Linked DNA regions of Homo sapiens: all the other regions are linked to region 3. Evidence: promoter capture Hi-C in 16 types of primary human blood cells and fetal thymus (Javierre and others, 2016). All regions are on one chromosome and are shown on one strand. Each heading gives the region's core, a stretch centred on a gene start or on the middle of the fragment in contact. The rest is flanking DNA. Distances are from core to core; before and after follow the strand shown.

Evidence for each region. Contacts are between HindIII fragments. The CHiCAGO score rates a contact against its expected background, and 5 or more counts as called.
Region 1: a fragment that was not itself captured here is called in contact with the fragment with the promoter of KLF12 in region 3 in 1 of 17 cell types (non-activated CD4 T cells); the score reaches 7.5 in non-activated CD4 T cells.
Region 2: a fragment that was not itself captured here is called in contact with the fragment with the promoter of KLF12 in region 3 in 2 of 17 cell types (non-activated CD4 T cells and total CD4 T cells); the score reaches 8.0 in non-activated CD4 T cells.
Region 4: a contact is called between a fragment that was not itself captured here and the fragment with the promoter of KLF12 in region 3, in 1 of 17 cell types (non-activated CD4 T cells). The highest score is 7.5, in non-activated CD4 T cells.
Region 5: a fragment that was not itself captured here is called in contact with the fragment with the promoter of KLF12 in region 3 in 1 of 17 cell types (activated CD4 T cells); the score reaches 5.2 in activated CD4 T cells.
Region 6: a fragment that was not itself captured here is called in contact with the fragment with the promoter of KLF12 in region 3 in 1 of 17 cell types (non-activated CD4 T cells); the score reaches 5.1 in non-activated CD4 T cells.

The regions. Positions count from the first base shown.
Region 1 is chr13:73,859,906-73,863,295 of GRCh38, forward strand. The region is part of intron 3 of KLF12 (KLF transcription factor 12); the gene reads right to left. Among named protein-coding and RNA genes, the nearest start is that of LINC00393, 200 kb to the left of the region's middle. The HindIII fragment of the contact is 6,362 bases long and covers 1-3,390 here.
Region 2 is chr13:73,767,317-73,771,153 of GRCh38, forward strand. The region is part of intron 5 of KLF12 (KLF transcription factor 12); the gene reads right to left. Among named protein-coding and RNA genes, the nearest start is that of LINC00393, 110 kb to the left of the region's middle. RefSeq lists an enhancer at 169-804. The HindIII fragment of the contact is 4,662 bases long and covers 44-3,837 here.
Region 3 is chr13:74,133,114-74,136,583 of GRCh38, forward strand. KLF12 (KLF transcription factor 12) reads right to left here and starts at 1,291. Exons shown (of 8, transcript NM_001400136.1): 1 at 859-1,291. RefSeq lists an enhancer at 1-28 and a silencer at 1,038-2,787. The HindIII fragment of the contact is 3,671 bases long and covers 1-2,670 here.
Region 4 is chr13:73,746,517-73,750,298 of GRCh38, forward strand. The region is part of intron 6 of KLF12 (KLF transcription factor 12); the gene reads right to left. Among named protein-coding and RNA genes, the nearest start is that of LINC00393, 87 kb to the left of the region's middle. The HindIII fragment of the contact is 1,610 bases long and covers 1,442-3,051 here.
Region 5 is chr13:73,720,811-73,724,151 of GRCh38, forward strand. The region is part of intron 6 of KLF12 (KLF transcription factor 12); the gene reads right to left. Among named protein-coding and RNA genes, the nearest start is that of LINC00393, 61 kb to the left of the region's middle. The HindIII fragment of the contact is 1,923 bases long and covers 290-2,212 here.
Region 6 is chr13:73,815,544-73,819,307 of GRCh38, forward strand. All of the region lies in intron 4 of KLF12 (KLF transcription factor 12), which reads right to left. Among named protein-coding and RNA genes, the nearest start is that of LINC00393, 160 kb to the left of the region's middle. The HindIII fragment of the contact is 3,512 bases long and covers 58-3,569 here.

The DNA.
Region 1 (3,390 bases), core at 613-3,112, 270 kb before region 3:
TTTCTTTTCTTCCTTTCCTTTCAAGCTAAAGACTCATAACTTTTTTTAAAAAAAGTTTTATTTTTGACCAATGATGAGTGCTCTTTGATAAAACCAATGTAATAAAGCGGAACTTTTGCAAATAGGACAATAAGTGAGAAGAAATGCAGTGTGGTTTTGTGAAAAGGATACATGCCTGAGTTCCGGTCTGGGTTGCGTTTTATATGATCAGTTCACTCATTGTCTCTCTTCAGTTTCTGATTGAAGATGATGTTGATCATGCTTTTGCACAGTTCAGGTGTCTGTTATCTCCTCCAGCTGTACCAGATTCCACCTGTTCTAAATTAGATGCCACTCTTCTGTGCTTCCAAAGCACTCTGAACTTTGTGCTTCTTTCTCTTACGAGGCGGCCATGGGCCCACCAAAGATATCATTTTTATCTTGTTCTTTTGTAGACAAGCACCTATCACAGTCCCCAGTACAAAGTAAGCACTTAATTAAAGCTCATTAGTAAAGCTCCAGTTGCTCCCCAAAGGCCTTACTGGGTCTCAGATTGAATATATCTACGGGCCACATGCAGTGGCTCACGCTTGTAATCACAGCACTTTAGGAGGCCGAGACCGAAGGGTTGCTCGAGCTCAGGAGTTTGAGACCAGCCTGGGCAACACAGAGAGACCTTGTCTCTACTAAAAATAAAAAATAAAAATAAATAAGCTGGGTGTGGTGGTGCACACCTGTAGTCTTAGCCATGCCAAAGACTGAGGAAGAAGGATCACTTGAGCCCAGAAAATCGAGGCTGCACTGAGCTATGATTGCATCACTGCATTCCAGCCTGGGCGACAGAGTGAAAAAAAATCTATGAATTAATTACCCCGTGACTAAAACTTAAACGGTAAATATATTAACTTATTATAACATATAAAAATGAAAGTTGAAAGTTTCCAGTGCCTCATTCTTTTGTTAAAGAATTTAAATTTATCAATTGATATTTAATTCCTCCCACTACAGAACTTTAAGTGACTAGTTTCCATGTATTACAAGATGATTTTTACAAGAAGAGATGAAAGACACACTTCCAAGGGGCTAAAAATCAAATGTATGAGTCATATTTTGTATTTTTGCTAATTTGAAATACATTTTTTATAACTAGAAAATTTATAATTAGCATCTCTCAATATGTCACAGTAATAGGAAGTTAAAAAATAACACTCTTTCTGGTTCCAAAACTTAGTCTTCATGTCTATCAAGTTTTTCAAAGTTAGTTAGGATTCTGCATTTTTTTCTGTCAATCGGGGTGTAATACATGGCATGAAGGTTATAAATCCTGTAACTAGATACAATGATAAATGCATGTACCCCATTCTTGTTAATTTTCCATTCCACAATAAAAAACCCCTGCTAACTCTGATCCTTTCAGTGTGGGGATTACCTGTACCAGCAACCCACAAACTCTGCTGCTGCTTCCTGCGCAGTGAACTCTACAACTGCCTTTCTCCTCCCTTTGGCTTATCTTGCTCTGCTCCTTCATGTTAATTCCATTCTTCTAGAACTTCTGCATTGGCATTCTTATTTGGCATTCTTATTTACACTAAAGGAGTAGTTATTAATGGCAGGTAATGTGTCCCCCAGGGGACACTGAGCAACATCTGAAGACATTTTTGATTGAAGCAGTGACAAGACAGTTCCCATGACAAAGACAAAAGACCAAGAGTGTCGAAGTTTAAAGAAACCCTGGATTAAGCTATCATCTTTTTCCTACTTTTTCCCCTAACATCTTATATATTACTTTTTTTTAATTTGTGGAATTATTCCGTTTTCCTCATTTTTCCTTCTCTAACTCTTCCATATGTGTTAATCATGTAAATATATCTACAGAGTCCAAACATATATACATGCACCTCCGTGGGTATGTGAATACGGCTTAGGTACTGGTATGAATGCTGATGGGCATGTGTGTATTCTTGTGACATCTTAGCATGTAGTGCACTTAAAAGTCATGCAAGGAGTGTGTGTGACAGAATATGTAGAAAAATTAACTTGAAGTGTTTATTACCTATATATACAAATGTGTGTGTCTACGTGTTCCTAGCCCTTCATATTATAAGTATTAATTGAATAGTTTTCATAGATTTGCTTAAGTGTACAAACAGAAGAGTGCAGATATAGTTGGGTTTTTTTTTTTTTTTTGAAAAATCAAAGGGTATTGAGGTTAAGTTAAAAACCTTAACACATAAATGCAGTTGTGATCTCTAAATTCACTAAGCATCTGTCTTTCCAGTAAGGATTCCAGACATCAGCCCATGTGATGCTACTGTTAGCTAAATCTAGGCCCCAAACTTGAATTAGTTTTACAACATGTAAAGGGGAAAAGACATGTCTAAAAATTATAAACCTGCTGCACATACATTACAGTGTATTGTTTATTCCTCACAACATCTCAATATAAAAAACTATCATGAATCACATTTTACAGATAGGAAACAGACGTGGAGAGGTTAAGAAATGTGCCAGTGGTTCTAAGGCATTAAGTGACAATGTCAAGATACAATCTTTAGTGATCTCTGGCAATAAAATCCATGGCCTCAACTATTAATGCAATACTAACTCCCACATCTGAATCTTTAATGTATGCCCACAGCAGATCAGGAAAGACTGAAATCACTGTAATCAATTCTATAAAACATTTGTCTCTTATTTTGTGCAATTTTAAGACGACTATGTTTCGTGAAGAAAAAAGAGTCAAAAGGTTAAGTAAAAACTTTCACAGATTTCAACAACATATCTTAGCAGAATTATTTTTTCCTTTATTGGTTTTCCTTATAAAATCTCTAAGAAAACAACAACTGTACGTTATTCAATTATTTATTACTGAATAAATAAGAAAAAGAAAAGAGTCAGGCACATTAATCACTTCTTTGATCCAAACAGAATTCTGGTTCCCATGAGATAAAGTTACTCTGTGTTTTTGGTTTTAAATAATTCCTGTGATAAAATCCCAAATTAATTATTAAGTAAATTAGCAAACTCACATTATATGATTCATTTTCTTCTTAGCATCAGAACTTTCAGTCACAGTTAAGATAGCCAACATTCAATTATCTACTCATAGACAGGATCACAGTACAAGTAATCCCAAGTGACAGATAATCCAAAAAGGCATTTATGTTGGGTTTAAAATTCATTATATGATTCCAGCAGATTTACCACCATAATTATATTTATTAGACTCATATTAAAATTCATTTGTATTTCTTAAACACATGCCAACTGAGGGAGGATCTCAGAAACATGCTGGATCAAGAAAGGAAGCTGATTTGCTATTAGCAATTTTCCTGTGAATAACTGACAAGAAGTCATGGGGATAGTAAAACTAAATTTCATATTTATTAAGAGTCTTATGTGATAAATTAG
Region 2 (3,837 bases), core at 1,125-3,624, 360 kb before region 3:
TTATTCATGACCTCCTGATTCTTGCACCTGCATCTAGGCAGGAAGCTTGCAGGGAATGTTCATTATTCTTCCCTTAGCCTCACACAGGCTCGATTACTGCTAAGCCACTTTGTTCTGTAACTAAGGGGTTCAGGCCTTAGTACTAACTGCTGGATGTGGAAAGAAAAAACACCACGCTGAACAAAAGGGCAATCTTGGTTGTTGTGTAACATGTATTGAATGTGCTCTTCTGAGACTGACAGTTTGTCAGGTAGAAATGCTCACATTTGGTGATTTACATTACATAGAAAACAGGGAAGCTATACCATTAGGGCCATGTGTACCAACTGTTCTATTTATATACACTTACTCATCTGGAGCAGAGAGCATGTTTATAATTTTACCCAGTGCAGAGCTTAATTTAGCTTTCTTGCTAAGCATATGAGAACTTTTTAGATGACTTAATACAAAAACGGCTCTTTCTTCTTTGGGTATAAGCACCAAAGAACCTGACTCTCAAAACCTTGCATCTTAATGACTGCCATTTATAGTTAATCAAGAGAATACCATCACTCTGGTTTTCAATGTTTTCATAAACCTACCTGAGTGGCACCCCCTGGTGACTGGAGGTGGGATGCAACATCTTGATTCCCAACACAAATCATCAGCACTCATGAATTGCTGGGGGAAGGATACTGGTCCCACTTTACTATCTGCACCACAGAAAAGCTGTGATAACTTAATGCAATCTTATCATCCCAAATGGAATTAGGATGAAGTGGTTAAGAGTGAAAATTGTGTGACCAGCCTGCCTGACTGAATCCCAGCTTCACCGTTTACCAACGGTGTCATCTTTGGGCAAGTTATTTAACCTCTCTGTGCCTCAGTTTCCTCATCAGGGCAAATGGAGGTAATAATGGGGCCTATTACCTAGGGCTGCGAGGTTTAAATCAGTTAACAGCTATAAAATCTTTAGAATGGTGCTCAGTACTTAGGAAGCAGTCAATACATGTTAGCTATTGTCACTAGCAGTGCTGATTAGACATGAAAGGATGGGAAGTCAGAGGATAGAGCTGGACTATCCAGGTAATTCCAGGGGATTAAGATTACAAATATGCTCTACAGAGCCTGCAGTCTTACCTACTGTGCTTATACAACTTTACTAAAGGCGAGAAAACAAACCAAGAAATAAACATGGGCAGAATAATACAAACCAAAAACTATGGCTTATAAGGTATGGCTTACTCTCAGGCAGCTCATTTTTTTCTGCTCTTTATTAGAAGACCTATCTTCTGTGTACTAAACTGCACAGTATTTAAGTTATGACCCATTCAAGAACAAGACAGTAATCACGGCAATGCAAATTTGCACCCATTTACAGAGCCCTTACTATTTGCTTGGTATCATGCTAAATAATTAAGACATATTATCTTAATTTATCCTCATGTCATTACTGTCCACATTTTATCTTTGAGAAAATAGGCTTAGAAGATTAGGTAACTTGCTGGGGTCACGTAGGTAGTAAAGAGAAAAGTCAGGATTTAAACACAGGTACGTCTGACCTGTCTGACCTGTCTTACATCATGGATGATATAAGATTATCATCTGATACTTATATATATTCCCTCCACCCAGCCCAGAGGATGTAATAAGATGAATTAGCACCAGGGTCTTAAATAGGAAATTTTCCATGTATTTAAGCCCAATTGAACATTTTATAATATAAGTAGATATAAAGTGGAAGTAATGGTTTTCTTGGACTAAATATGAAGCATGTGGGTACTTATAAGAAGCACAGTCATAATAATATACTTTATCTCTTTAATTGTTTATGAATGTTCCTTGTTATATTAGCATTGCTATTTAAATACATAATGTACAACACATGTAAATTTTAGAGGGCAGAAATTAATTCTAGCTATAGCCATGCTTCCTCACATTCCATTTTCTCTAGAATCCAATGTAGTTGGTATCCACACCGCTCTGATGAAACTGCCCTCATCACAGCCATCAATAGTCTCCATGTTTTCAAATCTAATGGTGAATTCTTAGTCCTCAACTTCTCAGCAGCAACTGACATAAATTATCACTCCATTCTTGAACAGCTTCTTTACTCAGCAGCCAAGACATTCTTCTGGCTTTCCTCCTTTCTTTCTCCTTTGCTTGAACCTCCTCCTCTCATTCTTTCAAACTCTAAATGTTGGCATGGGCTAGTTGTCACTGTCCTATAACCTTTCCTCTCCACTATTTAAACTCACTCTGTAGCTAAAAGAGGCTCCAACTGAGCTACCATCATGACCTTCCCATCCACATCATCACGACTCCCAAATGTCTACCTCCAGCCTTAGATCTTCTCTGAAAACCAGACCCAGGTTTCTTAATATCAACCTTTCTCTGAAAGAAACAAACAAAAAAAAAGATGTTCCTTCTGGTATCTTCTCAATTTCAAAAATGTTGGAATTATTCACTCAGTTGCTCAGGCCAAAAACCCTTAGAATAACATGTGAGTCCACTTGTGCTCACACCCCATAAATTAGAGAGGCTGTTTCATACTGAGAAGAATGAGAATAAATGATTATTCCACAGACCAATGAAATCTTTCTTGTAGGACATTACTCATCTAGCAAGACTAGATATTTTATACCAAGATTATAAGAAATTATTATGTACAAATACGTTCTTTTTCTAAAACCATTTAGGTTATATAATCATTAACCTATATTTTAATTAGGTTAATGATTAAATGATTATCTATACATTGTGCAAAGCATTAAACATAATACATACTTTAACAACTCAGTTTACTACATTTGCTGAAGAAAAGATTAACCTAAAATAACTCCACAATTACTAAATATCAGAATTTTCCTATGCAGAATTATATAAAAGATAATTTAAAAATAATTCTTGGTATTGCTTTCTTCTTACACTCGGTTGTACTGAATACAAGTTCTCCTGATGATTTAGGTTACTCTAGATGTTATTTTAATATAAACACACTACCCATGACCAAATAAAAATATGAGTGTGACCAGTGTTTAAATTCAGTGGGCCTATTTTATTCTCAGGTTTTCCTCAGGCCAGTGATTAAATGACTATTAGAAATGCCATATATTTTTAAAAGGTTCTCCATCTGCCTTTATACTAAAATTTCTCTCATGAAAAGCCATTTATGTTACTTTTAGAAAAGTGGGCTGAACTTAAATATTATATACAATTAATATGTGAACTTTTTTTTTTTTTTTGAGATGGAGTCTTCCTCTGTCACCCAGGCTGGAGTGCAGTGGTGCCATCTTGGCTCACTGAAACCTCTGCCTCCCTGGCTCAAGCAATTCTCCTGCCTCAGCCTCCTGAGTAGCTGGGATTACAGGCATGCGCCACCTGTAATGGCTAATTTTTGTATTTTTAGTAGAGATGGCGTTTCACCATGTTGGCCAGGATGGTCTCCAACTCCTGAACTCAAATGATCCTCCTGCCTCAGCCTCCCAAAGTGCTGGGATTACAGGCGTGAACCACCATGCCCAGCCAATATGTGAAATTTTTTTTAACTGCTTACTATAACTCTTATTCTAATGTCATAGACACTGAAAGAGAGAAGTTAAACTGTGCTAAAAATATTACATTTTGAAGGAAACATTAATTTCTGATATACACCAACAGAATGAGGAATTCTAAAAAGAGCATTTGGTGTGCAATTATAATGTATTAATTAATCCTGGCCCTATCTCCCACCATCCCCACTTGCTCTCTCTGGGGCAGTGACACTAGATGTTCTCCTCTCTCCCTGCTAAGGTGATTAGCTGATGCTCAACTGTAAGATGCCCTCCCTAACCTCCAGGTCTTGGTGAACTTGCTCTT
Region 3 (3,470 bases), core at 41-2,540:
TAGCAAGTGACAGTTACACATCATTACGACCAGAGACAATAATGAATGTAGCACCAGGAGCACTATTCATGCCAGCAGTGTCATCTCCGCCTTAACCCCTTCCCCTCCACTCTCTCCAGCGCGCACACACAGCCCACACGGTCCCGGTGCGGAGCTATTCATCCACCCCGCTCGAGGCCGGGGGGCCAACTACTTCCACGAGCCCCCCCTCCCCCCCAAGTTCAGCCCTGGGGTTTTATTTCACATCCTTGGCAACTGTCAGGCAAACACTGCAACCAACAATTCCACTAGGGGTAGAAAAACACTTGCTTAATTCACGTTACTTGATAACTTCTTCTGGAAAAAAAAAATTAGGGGAGGTGGGGAAGAAACCTCCTTCTTTCTTCTCCACGAATCCGACCGACGCTACTTGCTTTGCAACAGCATCGCCCTTCCCCGGCCCCCTCCCGCTTCCCAGCACTTTCCCCCTTTAAGAACACAGACCAACCAAAATGATTTAACTTGAGCAGATGACAGAAGGAAAATAAAACACGTTAAGAGAATACGGTCTGATTTGGGATGGCAAAAAAAAAAAAAAAAGAGGAGGGGGTTGTTTATTTTGATAAGAAACGGAATCGGCACAGACCTGAACAGAAGCTGCAGAGCAGGAGAAATTGTTTTCTTTCCCTCACACAGAGTCCCCCTCTCTCTCTCCCTTTCTCTCTCTCACACGCGCGCGCGCACACACACACACACACTCGCACACACACGGCGTCACCCGCGCACACGCACACGCAGAGCCTCTCAGCGGCTCTCTGCAGTTCTCAGGAAATGAATGGGGGGCAACCCGGGGAACTGTTGTACTTGCAAATGACTTACCCGGATCACATGATGCGCTAAATGTAGGGTGGGCCGGTGGGTGGAGGCTGCCGAGTTGCGAGCCCCGGTCTAGTGTGGGGAGCCTCGCCAGGCCCGCATCGAATTACCCCGGGGCCCAGCCGAGGGGGTTGCAGGACGCCGCTTCTCCTCCCTCGCAGCCCGCAGCTCAGGAAACCGGAGAGGCGCTTGGGGTGGGGTGGGGTGGGGTGCTGTGAGGGGGGGGGCCGAAAACAAGAAACCCCCAAACAAAAGAGCTCCGGGTCCTCCTCCCCAGAAACAAAGCCCCGCCGCTGCCGGCGAGCCCCGGGGTGGGGCCGAGGGCGGGGGCGGCGGCGGGGAGGGGCTCGCTCAGCAGGCGCTAAGTCGCTTTATTGCCATAAAATGGGGCCCCCGAGCCGCTCCGCCCGAGGATTAGGAGGCGGGCTCTGAGTGTGATGGTTGAAATCCCCTGTGGGAAACTAACCCCTCCCCGCTCGCAGAGGTAGAAGGCAACACCCACTGCCCGGCCCTCGCCTCCCCGCCCGGACCGCCGGGCTGGGTCCGCGGCGCCTCCACCCCGCCCCACCCCGCCCCACCCCTGCCCCCGCCCTCCGGCCCCGGGCCTCGGCAGCGCTTCCCTTTCACCTGCACCACTTTGCTGCGGCACCCCAAATAACCCACACATGGCCCTGGGAGCTCGGGGAGTCGTCGGCCGAGGGGGCCCGCGGGGGCTTGCGGCGGGAGGGACCCCTGGAGAGCAACTCGCTGGGCAAGGACTCGCGCCGAGCCGCGAGAAAGTCTCCTCTTTTGTGTCAGAGCGCGCCAGACAGGCTTAGGAGAATTCGGGGACCCAAAAAGCGTGCAGCCCGCTTGGGCCCCCACCCCTCGCCGCACCCGCCCGGGTGGGGGCGCGCAGTGGAGGGAGGGGGCTGTCGCCCGGGTCGTCCCCGCGGCTCGCCCGCCAGCGAACTTGGAAAGGTGTGGGCGGAGCCGGCCGGGACTGTGGGGCAGCTCGCGGGGACCGCCCCTGGGCGCCGGGCATCGCCCGCGCCGGGCAACAATGGGGTCAGGCAGGGGCAGCCCCGCGGGCGGTGCCCCCCGCGCGCCGGTGGGGCGGGCGGAGGGCCGGGCGCGGCAGGCAGGGGAGTCATTGTTTGGGTTCCGGAGCGACGCACGTTGCGGGCGAAGCGGGGGCGCCCCTTTTCCCTGCGCTTCACCTTGGCGGGATGAATGGGGGCGAGGCGGAGATGCGCGCCTGGCCTCGCCACCCCAGCGAAGGGGCCCCTGCCTGCGCCAGTTCTGTGGGAAAGCACGCAAACTTGGAGGACTGGGGCAGAGGAAGCGGGATCTGCAGACCCCCGCGGGGCCCGGGGGCGGCGGGGAAGGGAGTCCAGCTCCACTGCCCCACGCCCAGAGCGGAGCCCCAAGAAGCGGACGGCCCGGAGCCGAGTCCTTGACGCTCTCCCCGGCAGCCCCTCCCTCCCCGCCTCCGCGCCCCGGGGAGCGGATCCGCGGGATTGTGGGGCGGGAGAGGGAGGAGGCGGCCGGGCGGCCCTGCAGTTCCCGCGGCGGCTCGGAGGGCGCGGGGTCAGCGCCGAGCCGGAGGGTCGGCGGGGGCGGGGAGCAGACGGGGCGGAAGCGGCCGGGCGGGCGGGGCGCGCGGCGGACGGAGGCGGGAGGCTGTGGGCCCGCCTCCTCACCATCCTAGGTGAGCGCGGCGCTCCGGGCACGACAGTATTCCCCTGCCCCGCGCCCCCGGCCCGGCCCGCCCCGCGTGGGAAATCGCCAGGGCTGTGGGAAGGCCGGGAAGGGGAAGTTTGTGTGCAGAGAGAAAGCTTTGCTGTACTGTGGCGTGGAGTGGGGTGGGAAGAGAAACAAGGGAGAGGCCGAGAAACAGGAAATGAGAACGAAGGCACGAATGTGAGCCAGGGCCAGCTGGGCTCCCCATCGGTGTGGCGGTTTCCAGCCACTTCAGGCGCGGTGTGCGTTCCTAATGACAACAAAGGCGGCGTCTGCCTGGTGCGTTCTCTGCCTCTTGCCACTCCTAGGTTCTGGGGAAAATGGGATGGGTGGTCCAACCTAGAGGAGGGGTCCCACAGCCTAAGATGCGTCTTAGGAAGGCAGCAGGATTCAGAGGAGGGGTCTGTCCTGGTCTTGAGGTTTCGAAGAGGAAGAAATGTCTGAAATTTGTGGAGCACTGCTCGAGTGAAGTAGCCTCAGCGGCGGGAGCGGGAAGGCGCGGGCGCAGCGAGGGCGTCGGGAACCCAGTGGGACTCGGGGGTGAGGGGTTGGTGGTTGCTGCGGTGCGGTCTCTGTTCCGGGGAATGCAGCCGCAACTCCCACTCCCTGATCCGATCCTGGGCCTAGGGTAAACAGCCCCTTACACTCCACTACACCCGGATGGAAACGACGTGAAAACACAAGTTTGAAAAGCAGCAGAATATCAACAACTGCGCAGGATTTCAACGAGAAACTTGCCTCTACTAGAATCACTGTGAAGTTTCCCTCTAGGTGGGGCAGGGAGTGAAGGAAGGGAGTTTCACTGTAAGGGTGGAAGGATGCTGTAAGAAATTATGTCATCGTGGCAGTTCTTGTACTAACAGCTCTTTCTCGAGTGAGCTGAGTGGCGGATA
Region 4 (3,782 bases), core at 997-3,496, 390 kb before region 3:
ATATTCTCCTTTAGATACCTTTATATTCTTCCAAAGACAGAGCTCCTTTTAGATACCTTTATATTAATTCTGAGCATTACTATACTGCCTGGCACCTAGTAGGTGCTCAAAATATGTCAGACTTTCAATTAGCTCATTATTTTAATTGAGTGAAGTTTGATAAGAGTCTTAAAACATTCTATTTTATTTAAATTTTGTGTATCTTTCTAAAAAAATTAAGAGTGATTTAATTATGGAGTTGAAACTAGAAGAATTAGCATATTTCAGTTTAAAGCCATGCCCCTCCCTCCCTCCTTTTTTTTTTTTTTTTTTTTGAGATGGAGTCTCTTGCTCTGTCGCCCAGGCTGGAGTGCAATGGCACAATCTTGGCTCACTGCAACCTCTGCCTCCCTGGTTCAGGTGATTCTCCTGCCTCAGTCTCCCAATTAGCTGAGATTACAGGTGTGTACCACCACACCTGGCTAATTTTTTTGTATTTTTAGTAGAGATGGGATTTCACCATGTTGGTCAGGCTGGTCTCGAACTCCTGACCTCAAGTGATCCACCTGCCTCAGCCTCCTAAAGTATTGGGATTACAGGTATGAGCCACTACTCCTGGCATTTTCTTTCTTTCTTCCTTCAAATATTTACTGAGTGTCTACTATGGGCCAGACCTTATGGTAGGTGCTGGAGACTTATAGTCTAAGAGAGGCACACATACTTCCTTACATGCACACAATTGAGGGCCATGACAAAAAGACATGGCAGGGATCCAGAGGAGGAATGAAGAACCCAGGCTGCCATCAGCAAAGAGGTGAGTGTTTTAGCTACGGAGAAGGCTGTTATCAAGGGAGAATATGCAAAAGGAAATGAAACTTTGAAGAACATGAACATTTAAAGGGTAGGTAAAGGAAAAGGACTGAATGAGAAGGACGCAGTAGATATGTCAAGGTTAGCTTAGTTATATCATATTGGGGAATTGAGTTAACCTAGCTCTCAAATTGTATTATCTATTAAAGGGTCAAAGTACATTTTAGCTAGTAGATTACATAATTAATGTTAGCTATGTATTAGTCATGGCTGTACATAAATGAGTCTTGCATCCCCTTGTAATAATAGTCAACACTTATTTATTGCGTTTGGTAAATACTGTCCTTTGAGCTTTATATGTAATATAGTGCATTTAATCCTCATGATAACCATGAAACAGGTATTATTAGCAAGCCCCATTTTACAGATTAGGAACCAGAGACTCAGAGATATAAAATAACTTGCTCGAAGTTACAGAGTTAATATATAGTAACTGAAATATGAAAATAGGCAGTCTGATTTATTGATCCCTACTCTATTCTTTCTCTTTTCATTTTAAAGATTAAAATAAAACTGTTTTTCAAGACATGTCACAGAATGGGTCTGAGAAATAAATAAAATGGTATCTATGAACTGTGTGAAAACTGTGAAAAGCTTAAGAATGTAAAATATCATTGAAAGGTGGTTCTAACAAAGTACAATGTCCATTTCTGGTGAAAACTGACTTCATTGTTTCCACTGGAGGGAAGTGTTGAAAACGATGAATTTGTGGAGAATCACTTTGGAGACTCGCCTCTATCACCAGAGGATGAATTATTTACCACCAATATAACCAGGCACACCTGGGAGCAAATTACTGATTCCAGGGCCCATTTGTAATCCCATATCAGATTCCTTTGTCACACAGAAGACAAAGTCGGACTGAAGTGATGTTTAAGTTTTAAGGGAGCTGATATCAGAAGTTGGTATTTTAATAAAAATAATATTATATATGATCCTTGTCTGTCCAGACCTTTAATCTGAATTAACAGTTATGGACTGAATGTCTGTGTCCCCCAAAATTCACACGTTGAAGCCATAATCCTCAATGCAATGGTATCTGGAGATGGGGCCTTTGGGGATTATTTAGATCAGGTCATGAGGGTGGTGGGGCCCTTAGGATGGGATTAGTGTACTTTTATAAGAAGAGGAAGAAAGATCAAAGTTCTCTTCTCTCTCCACTTTTTGAGGACATAGAGAAAAGGTGCACTCTGCTAGCCAGCAAGAAAGCCTTCCCCGGGAACTGAATCACCAGATGGCTTGCTGTTGGACTTCCCAGCCTCCAGAACTGTGAGAAATAGTCCTGTGGTTTTAGCCACACAATCTATGGTATTTTTTTAATGGCAGGCCAAGTTATGCCAAATACATTTAAATTTTAATATGTGGAGCTCTGGGAGATATATTTTTGTTGTATATTACCACAGAGGAAATGATAGTGAAGAGTTTGATGATTTGCTTAACGCCAAAAGCCAACAGCAGGTAGAATTTGAATCTGCATCCTTTGATTCCAAAGCTGTGCTCTTTCCATTGAGTTGTTTGGACTCCTGTTCTTTATATTTATTCACCCCATGTCAGTTTTAAAGGCCTTGGAAAAGTTACTAGAGAATAAAAGCCTATACATTCAGTACTTCAGAGGCCACATCTCCCTCTGTGGCCAATTAACACTCGATTTACTTTGATGGTCATTTCCTATAGAGTACCTATGTTCAGTTTTTTATCATTAGAAGGCCCTTTTCAGTGTGTGTTCTAAGACCACGGGCCCTCAGCTTGCTACAATCCTAGGGGAGGCCCAGCTTCTCAGCCCTCAGAAAGATAAATGGTTTACCTCTTTATACCAACATGGATTGACACTTTGCACAATGCCACTTAAAATTCAGTACCTGCTGATTCAGCTAAGAGATTAAAAAGAAAAAAAGATATTTATTCTTTGTTCATATGAAAATGTCGTATGCATTAATCCCATTAAACAACAGAGCCTGCATTTAAATCTCATTCTAAATCCTATTTCCAGAGTTTTAATGTTTGAAGGTGTTTGTGTCTTCAAAGGTGTGACAATTAAAACTAAAAGACTGATCTTCAAATTCATTAACATACACAAGAGACAAAAAGCCAACAAATTAGCACAGCCAAAGGAAAAAGATTTTTAAAAAAATAGCCACACAAAGCCCATCCAGGGGGTGATGCTTTTTTATTGGACTAATTGCAAGGAAATATAAAAGGGTAAGCTTTTACTAATCAAGCTCTTTTCACTCAGCCATGAAGAACTGCTAGGCAGAGCAAGCAAAGAGACAGGGTGTTAATGTAAGCCTGATAATTAAATTCAGGATCAAGTGGATCAGAGGGAAGGCCAAAAACGTAAAAATCAGGTGGAGGTAAGAATTAGAATCCCAATCTTTTATAATACTATATGGATTGTCGAAAGAAGAAGAGAAAGGAAACTTATGAAAGTTGGTTTTTTCTTTCTAAAGCATGAATAAAAGTGGTTATATTTAAAAGAAAAGTGAACAGTGACAATACTGCAGAGGTATTTTGTAGCATCCTGCCTTCTGTGACATAAAGCTCTTTCCTACATACTCATCTCCATTTATTTTCACATAATCCCTGTGGAAAGAAACAGGCAAGATCAGGCATAAGGGACTCAATCTTGCCCCAGATCACATAATTAGAGAGTGACAGAACAGGTCTAAAATCTTAGCTTCTGAAATTCAGGTCAGTAGTCACCATTATTCTTCAAACATTTTGTCAGGCATAACAACGATAAACAGAGAAAGGGCAGAAATGATGTAACCAATGTTTAAAGATGTCTGTAATGTGAAAATATGTCTTGCTATCCTCTGAATTTGAGTATTTCTACTTTTCTGAAAATATTGACTAAGGAATGGGAAACAGCCATCAAAATGTGGAAAGGGAACCACCAAAGTCAGGCGGCAGAAGTTCTAAGTTCTAATCCTAGC
Region 5 (3,341 bases), core at 1-2,500, 410 kb before region 3:
AAAAGACCACTCGTCATGTGTGACCTTAGCATGATGAGATGTCCTTCACTGAAACTGGAGTTTTTACAGGAGTTAAAAAAAAATTAAAAAGGCCAGGACAATCTTTCAAGCCTGGAAAGAAGACATACACATCCCAGATTTAAAAACCAGAGCAGAAAACACTGGAATTGAAGGAGCTTTAGTAAATTCACACACGCAATCACAACAGAATTCCAAGGGCCACAGCTGAGGATAACAATGATATTTACAGAATGCTTAGTGGGTGTCAGGCACCGACCTAAATGCCTTAAGCTTCAGAGCAACCCTCTGAGATTGACACTACTATCCCTGTACACTGTATCCCTCTTTTACAGATGAGGAAACTGAGGCACAGAGAGGTTAAGGCCAAGGCCAAGACAAAGTCTGCGGCTACACTAAAACTCAGACCTGAGTGGTTGATTCCAGAACTCAATTTTAATTACAATGTTATGCTTATTCAGATGAAGATACAGGTATTACAAACCAACATATGATAGAAGGGGAAAAAGCAACAAAATATCTATAGCATTTAAATTTCCCCTTTAACCCAATTATATAAAACAACAGCACACATAAGTGTTATTGAATATAGCCTGCAACGATAAGACATATACTTTTCTCTGGAGAATTTTAAAAAGGTAAACCGTTCTGTAAGTACTGTCAGATGGGCATTCAGTACACTTACTATTAATCTACCAAAGAAAGTATTTTCTTTTCTCTCCTTTCATCTTGTTTTTAAAAAGAGACAAGAACTCATTCTGTTGCCCAAGCTGCAGTGCAGTGGTAGAATCATAGCTCACCGGAGCCTCAAACTCCTGGACTCAAACAATCCTTCCGCCTCAGCCTCCTGGGAACTAGGACTACAGGTGCATGCCACCATGCCTAGTTAATTTTTTTTTTTTTTGGTAGAGAAAGGGTCTTGCTGTGTTGTCCTAGCCTGTCTTGAACTCCTGGCCTCAAGTGATCCTCCCACTTCGGCGTCCCAGTGTTGGGATTATAGGTATGAGACACTATGCCTACCCAGTACATATTTTCTTAAAGTTGTTATAAACTATGTATTTCCAAGGGAAATGTTTTTTAAAGGCTGAGTTTGGCAGTGGTATATGCTAATGTCTTCCTTGACCATTAATGCCACAAAATTAGTCCCTTCCCTGACATTCCACTTTATTTACAATTGTACCAAAAAGAATTGAGTTGGTTGCACGATAGAATTACCTTAAGGGAAGTGGGAGCATTCAGTTTACAAAGTATATTTTGTACTGTTTCTAAGGTTTCATATTATTTAAAATAAGACATTGAACATCACCTACAGAATTCTGAATTAACTTCTGCCACAGAATACCTGTAGGTAGAATGACTTCTTTGTTAGTGAATCAAACACCACCCTGGGAATGAATCATCAAGACCACAAGCAGAGCAAGAGTGGATGAGACTTTCAGTTAATCAGGATTTACATAAATCTCAGTAAGACAGATTCTATTCACATGAACAAGCCAGATATCTGCATTTCTTTGTAGGCTTTCCCTTAACCAGCAGATGGCTCTCAGAGGCAGGAATCTTCATATTTATCTTCCATACTACAACAGACTCTAGTGCCTGTCAAACCATGTCAATGTCTCTCCTATGATATTAATTAGGGAAAAAGCAGTGTTTAGATACATTTACTACCAAATCCCCAGCAGCTACATTCGGAGGTGGAGCAGATTCACAGGCATCAAGTTCCTCTCTCACTCCTGTCTGTAGCATTTCACAGAAAACTACTTTTGAACAGATTGAAATTGTAAGATTAGTAGTTGCCACCCTTTTCAGAAGCTGTGACTGAGACATTATATCATGTTCTAATTTGGATTCAATAAAAACGTTTTCACAAAATGTATAAATCAAGAGAAATACGTTTGCTAAAATGCGTCAAAAAGCTCAATCTTAACATCTATTCAAACTAGCGTTTGGCAAGTTTTCCATATGAACAGAATGCGTCTAAAATGCATATTTAATTATTGTTTTACTTTAATAAACAAAGTTTCCTACTAAACTAATTAAAAGATAATGGTTTACAAATGAGCCTTTTGGGCGCCCAAGGGGTGCCCTGGGGATGGATTCACAGTATTTCATGATTTTACTTAAATATAACAGCAGCCACTAAGTATTTTTCCACATCACTTTCTAGACCGTTAAAAAACTTAAAAGTATGACAAGCTTTCTGTTCTTTTTGTTTCAACATATTTCAGCAAGCAAGATCATAAGCTGTATTAGGCAAAATGTTTAAAGAGAATCAAAATAGAAAAAAACGAATCATTAACAGTCTGTTCTGGTTGGCTATATTATCAAACTTTTATGATGAAATTAGACTACAAGTTGAAAGAGGATTGTTGGCTAACAAAAAAATGCCTATTTCAGATATAGAGTATCTATTCAAAATAGCTACTCTGTGGGGAATGTCCTATGCATTGCGAAGACTTTATCCCATGAGATCAATTAATAATGTAGGATGAAACGAGGGTTCTGAAACAGGTATGGATTTCTGGATTATACTAGACATACCCACTGAATGGAAGACACATAACATACTTAAATATTTAGAGGGATTTTCCCACAGAATTTCTTCAGAAAATACCGGGGTTTAAATTATGTTTTATGCCAGAAGTGATAGCTTGGTGGATTACATAAACCTTAAAAAAAAAAACTTTCTAGGTCAGAATAGGATTAATTATTTTAATCGGAATGCCTTAAGGGTAAGCCCTGCCCTCCTCATTCTGGCATGGGCCCAACCCATGCCCTATTGCTTTATGAGAACAGCACTTTATCTTATCCATGTGGCTCTTGAACACATCTGATTTGGGGACTCTCTAGAATCATGCTAAATTTTAAAAATAAGTTATCCTTATTTGACTACAGTTAAACTTTAAGCTACTCAAGAGTGAAGAGTCTTATACATGTCTATTTATGTGACCGACAAACATGAAAAAAAGCTCATCATCACTGGTCATTAGAGAAATGCAAATCAAAACCACAATTAGATACCATCTCATGCCAGTTGGAATGGCGATCATTAAAAAGTCAGGAAACAGATGCTGGAGAGGATGCGGAGAAATAGGAACACTACACTGTTGGTGGGAGTGCAAATTAGTTCAACCATCGGGGAAGACAGTGTGGTGATTACTCAAGGATCTAGAACCAGAACTACCATTTGACCCAGCAATACCATTTCTGGGTATATACCCAAAGGATTATAAATCATTCTACTATAAAGACACATGCACACGTTATGTTTACTGCAGCTCTATTTACAATAGCAGAGACTTGGAACCAACCCAAATGCCCAC
Region 6 (3,764 bases), core at 564-3,063, 320 kb before region 3:
AACAGCCATTCACAACTATTCAAAGCCAGCCAAGAAAATGAATATCAGATCTATCTAAGCTTCCAAATCACATATTGTATGGTGTTGCATACACCTGTAAATGTCAAAAATTTAACATTTAAAGTTGTTGAAACATCATGCACTACGATGCCTTTGCCAAGATACCAAATTTGCAAACAGCCAAGAAAAAAGAAAATATTCTGATAGTACCATTTTGTCCAAGACAACTAGAGCTCTTATAGTAAGTAATACAACTCAAGGAAGATAGAGGCAGTTAACCATGAGCAATCTGGCTCTGAAAGTTAAAGTCTAATTGTATGAAAGATTCCAAAACCTTGTGTGAGAGTTGTTACATGATCATCTAATTATGTTATGTTTGTATCTTAATGAAAGTTTAAAATATGTTAAATATGATATCTTTTTGATGTACTTTTCAGGAGCATAATTGAGGATTTCTTTCCAATATTTTCAATAAATATTATGAAATACATCTGCTACCATCATGCTGGGAAAATCTTTTTACCCATACCTTCAGCCAAGCTGAGGAAGTAATTAGAAAGGCTTTTCAAAATCTGCATTGCTGATTAGGTCAGATGATTAGCTTATCTGCATACTTGCATAATTCCACTCTATTTTTATTAAATGTAGAATAGGGACATCAACCCTAGTTAACCTCCATCAGTCTTTGAGCATCTCAGCCCATTTAGGAAGGACTGATTCTCTGGCATGCCCATTTAAAGACCAAAGAAAGTTATCTGGACACCAGAAACAAAAAAATATCAGCCTCTGTAAGTAAGAGAACAGGAGATGATCTATAAACACCTGAAAAAAATTTACACTTAAGATTTTATTGCTCTTTAATGAAAAAGGGATCAGACAGTTTTGGGTAACCCAGCTCACTGCTGGTAGAGGTGTCATTCCTCGGAGTTGGAGGTGTTCTGGAATCCTACGTGAGTTTCATTCCATGTGTCAAAATCCTGGGGAGAAAATTTCAGAACCCAACACCTGAAGTTGAACTGATATACTCTGATTTTCAAATACTCTCCTATGGTAGATTGTTACTATAACGATCCCTCCAATAAATCATGTCTGTCTGTATCCATGCCCTGATGTGGCCACTTCTCAACAATGACTCTGGGCTTGGCTCTAAGACTTGAAGTGACCAATGGGACATTAGCAAATGTGACACAAGTAGAGGCTTGAAAAGCACTTGCACCTTGGGTTTCCCCTTTTCCCTTGCTCTTTTTAGAACCTAGTCAACTTGTGAAGAAGCCCGGGAGAGCCTATAGGAGACATGCTGCTCAGCAGGCGGCCAATCCCACTGTGAGCCATGTCAGTGAGCCATTTTAGACTCACCAGCTACATTACAGTCACCAGATGACTACACCATGAGTGACCCCAGGTGAGACCTGCTTGAAAACCTCTTGGCTAAACCCATGCCACATTTCTGACTCACAGAATTTGAGCAAATAAAATACCTGCTGTTTTAGGCTGGGTGCAGTGGCTCACACCACTGTAATCCCAGCACCTTAGGAGGCTGAGGCAGGAGGACTGCTTGAGCCCAGGAGTTTGAGACCAGCCCAGACAACGTAGTGAGACCCAACCTCTACAAGAAATTTAAAACATCAGCAGAGTGTGGTGGCATATGCCTGTAGTCCCAGCTAGTTGGGAGGCTGAGGTGGGAGGATCACTTGAGCCCAGGAGGTTGAGGCTGCAGTGAGCTACGATCACACCACTGCACTCCAGGCCTGAGCAACAGAGTGAGATCCTGTTTCAAAAAAAAAAGAAAAGAAAAAAAAGAAAAACAAAAAAAAAAAAGAAAGAAAAAGACAAGACTTGCTATTTTATTCCACTAAATTTTAGGGTTAGTTGTAGGGCAGCAATAAAAAGTTAGTGCACCAGGTTATTCTCCCAGCTCCTTCTAGAGATTTCCTAGCAATGATGGAGATGAACTACAACTACAATTACAGTCAGCCTACAACAATATTAAATTGAATTAAGTTTGGCCTAAAGCTGCCTCTATACATGTTTTAAGTTTGGCCTAAAGTTTCTTCTGTACATAGTGAACTGTAACCTAACTTGACGTGGAAACAGACCGTAACCTCCTCTTGCAACAAGTAGCTGAGTTTCGGTCAATCAAAGATGGCCAACTGTTGAAACCAGATTCAATTAAGGCATATGCTGCATTTTAACCAACGGAGCTGTCTCTGTACCTCACTTCCATTTTCTGCATGTCACCTCCTTTTCTTTGGCTATAAATATAATCTGCATATGCCGTAGGGTGAAGCATTCTGAACATTTTTGGTCTAGACTGTTGTCTGATTCTGGAATCAAATTAAAGCCAATTAAGATGTGCAAAATTAGATTTGTTTACTTTTAACAACATTCTTCTTTATTCTCCTCCCAAGAACCAACCTTGTTTTAGTGACATAAAAGCTACCTACTGCATTCTGCATCATTTACTTTTCAATTCAAAATATTCAAATGTATTTACAGGTGTTTTGGCTTTTGCAGTATCTTCTTTGATCCTTCAGTATTGTGCAGCTAAGGTTCTTCTTGGGCCCTAAGGGGCCATTTAGTTATGATGAACAACACTTATTTATTTTTATTTATTTATTTTCAGATGGAGTCTTACTCTGTCACCTAGGCTGGAGCGCAATGGCGCGATCTCGGCTCACTGCAACCTCCGCCTCCCAGATTTAAGTAATTCTCCTGCCTTGGCCTCCCAAGTAGCTGGGATTACAGGCGACAGCCACTGCGCCGGCCGAACACTTTTTCAGCTCTTCTCCTCAGCTGAGACTTGATAGGATGCTCATATGGGTGGGTTCTCACTGGTGTATGGTCACCCAAAGGTATATTTCATGTTTTTTCTCTTCAGCTCACATGAGACATTTAAACTTTGCTTGTTTCCTCCCCTCATGTAATAGTAGACTGACACAGATGCAGGGGACACTAATTCATTCTCACCTCCCCTCACCCCAGCCTGCCTGCTGTCTAAAGACCAAACACTCTTCTAACTTCTGTTGAAGTAAACTTGCCTATGCACCCACTCTTAAGGAAAAGGACATTCTTCTATTTCTATAGGTTGCAATATTAAATGTGTACGACACAACAATCTAAGAACATATATGAAAACTTACAGACTAACATTTCCTAACAGGAATGAATCCCAGAAGCAGATACTGAATCCCTTCACCTCCACGCGCCAGGGCTGGAGAGGAGAGGGCCATACACAGATGGAAGGTGTGAAGTGGCTGCCCAGGCAGGCGCCACAGGGCTGATGGACCTCTTTTCTCCCTCTTTTAGCTACGGACAGGCTCCCTGCTATCTGCAGGTGCCCTAATTGTTCGCCCTGCCAAGGCTGAAACATGTCCCAGTTAGAGAAACCCCGGCTTCCAGGAGAGCTGCTGGTTTATTCTAGAAAGGAGGGCAGAGGGGGAGTGCAGGAACAAAGGGAAAAATGAATGTTTGGGGAGGAATGTTTGGGAAAATTCATAGTATCAGTAGGTAGAAGAATCCTCCTCCAACACATTCTATGCAGAAATTGTTCCAGAAAAGGAGGGTCAGGAAGCTTCTTTAGGATAAAAACATGGCTCTGGCTTCAGGGAACATGGGATGACTTCTGGCCCTGTCATTTGCAACATCTGACCTTGGGCAATGATTTTGCACCGGGAATCTTCAGTTTCTTCTCCTGCTACTGCTGCTCTAAGGAGTAAAGAAGATAATACATGCAAAGCACTTAGTCCTGGCCTGGCTCTTAGTAG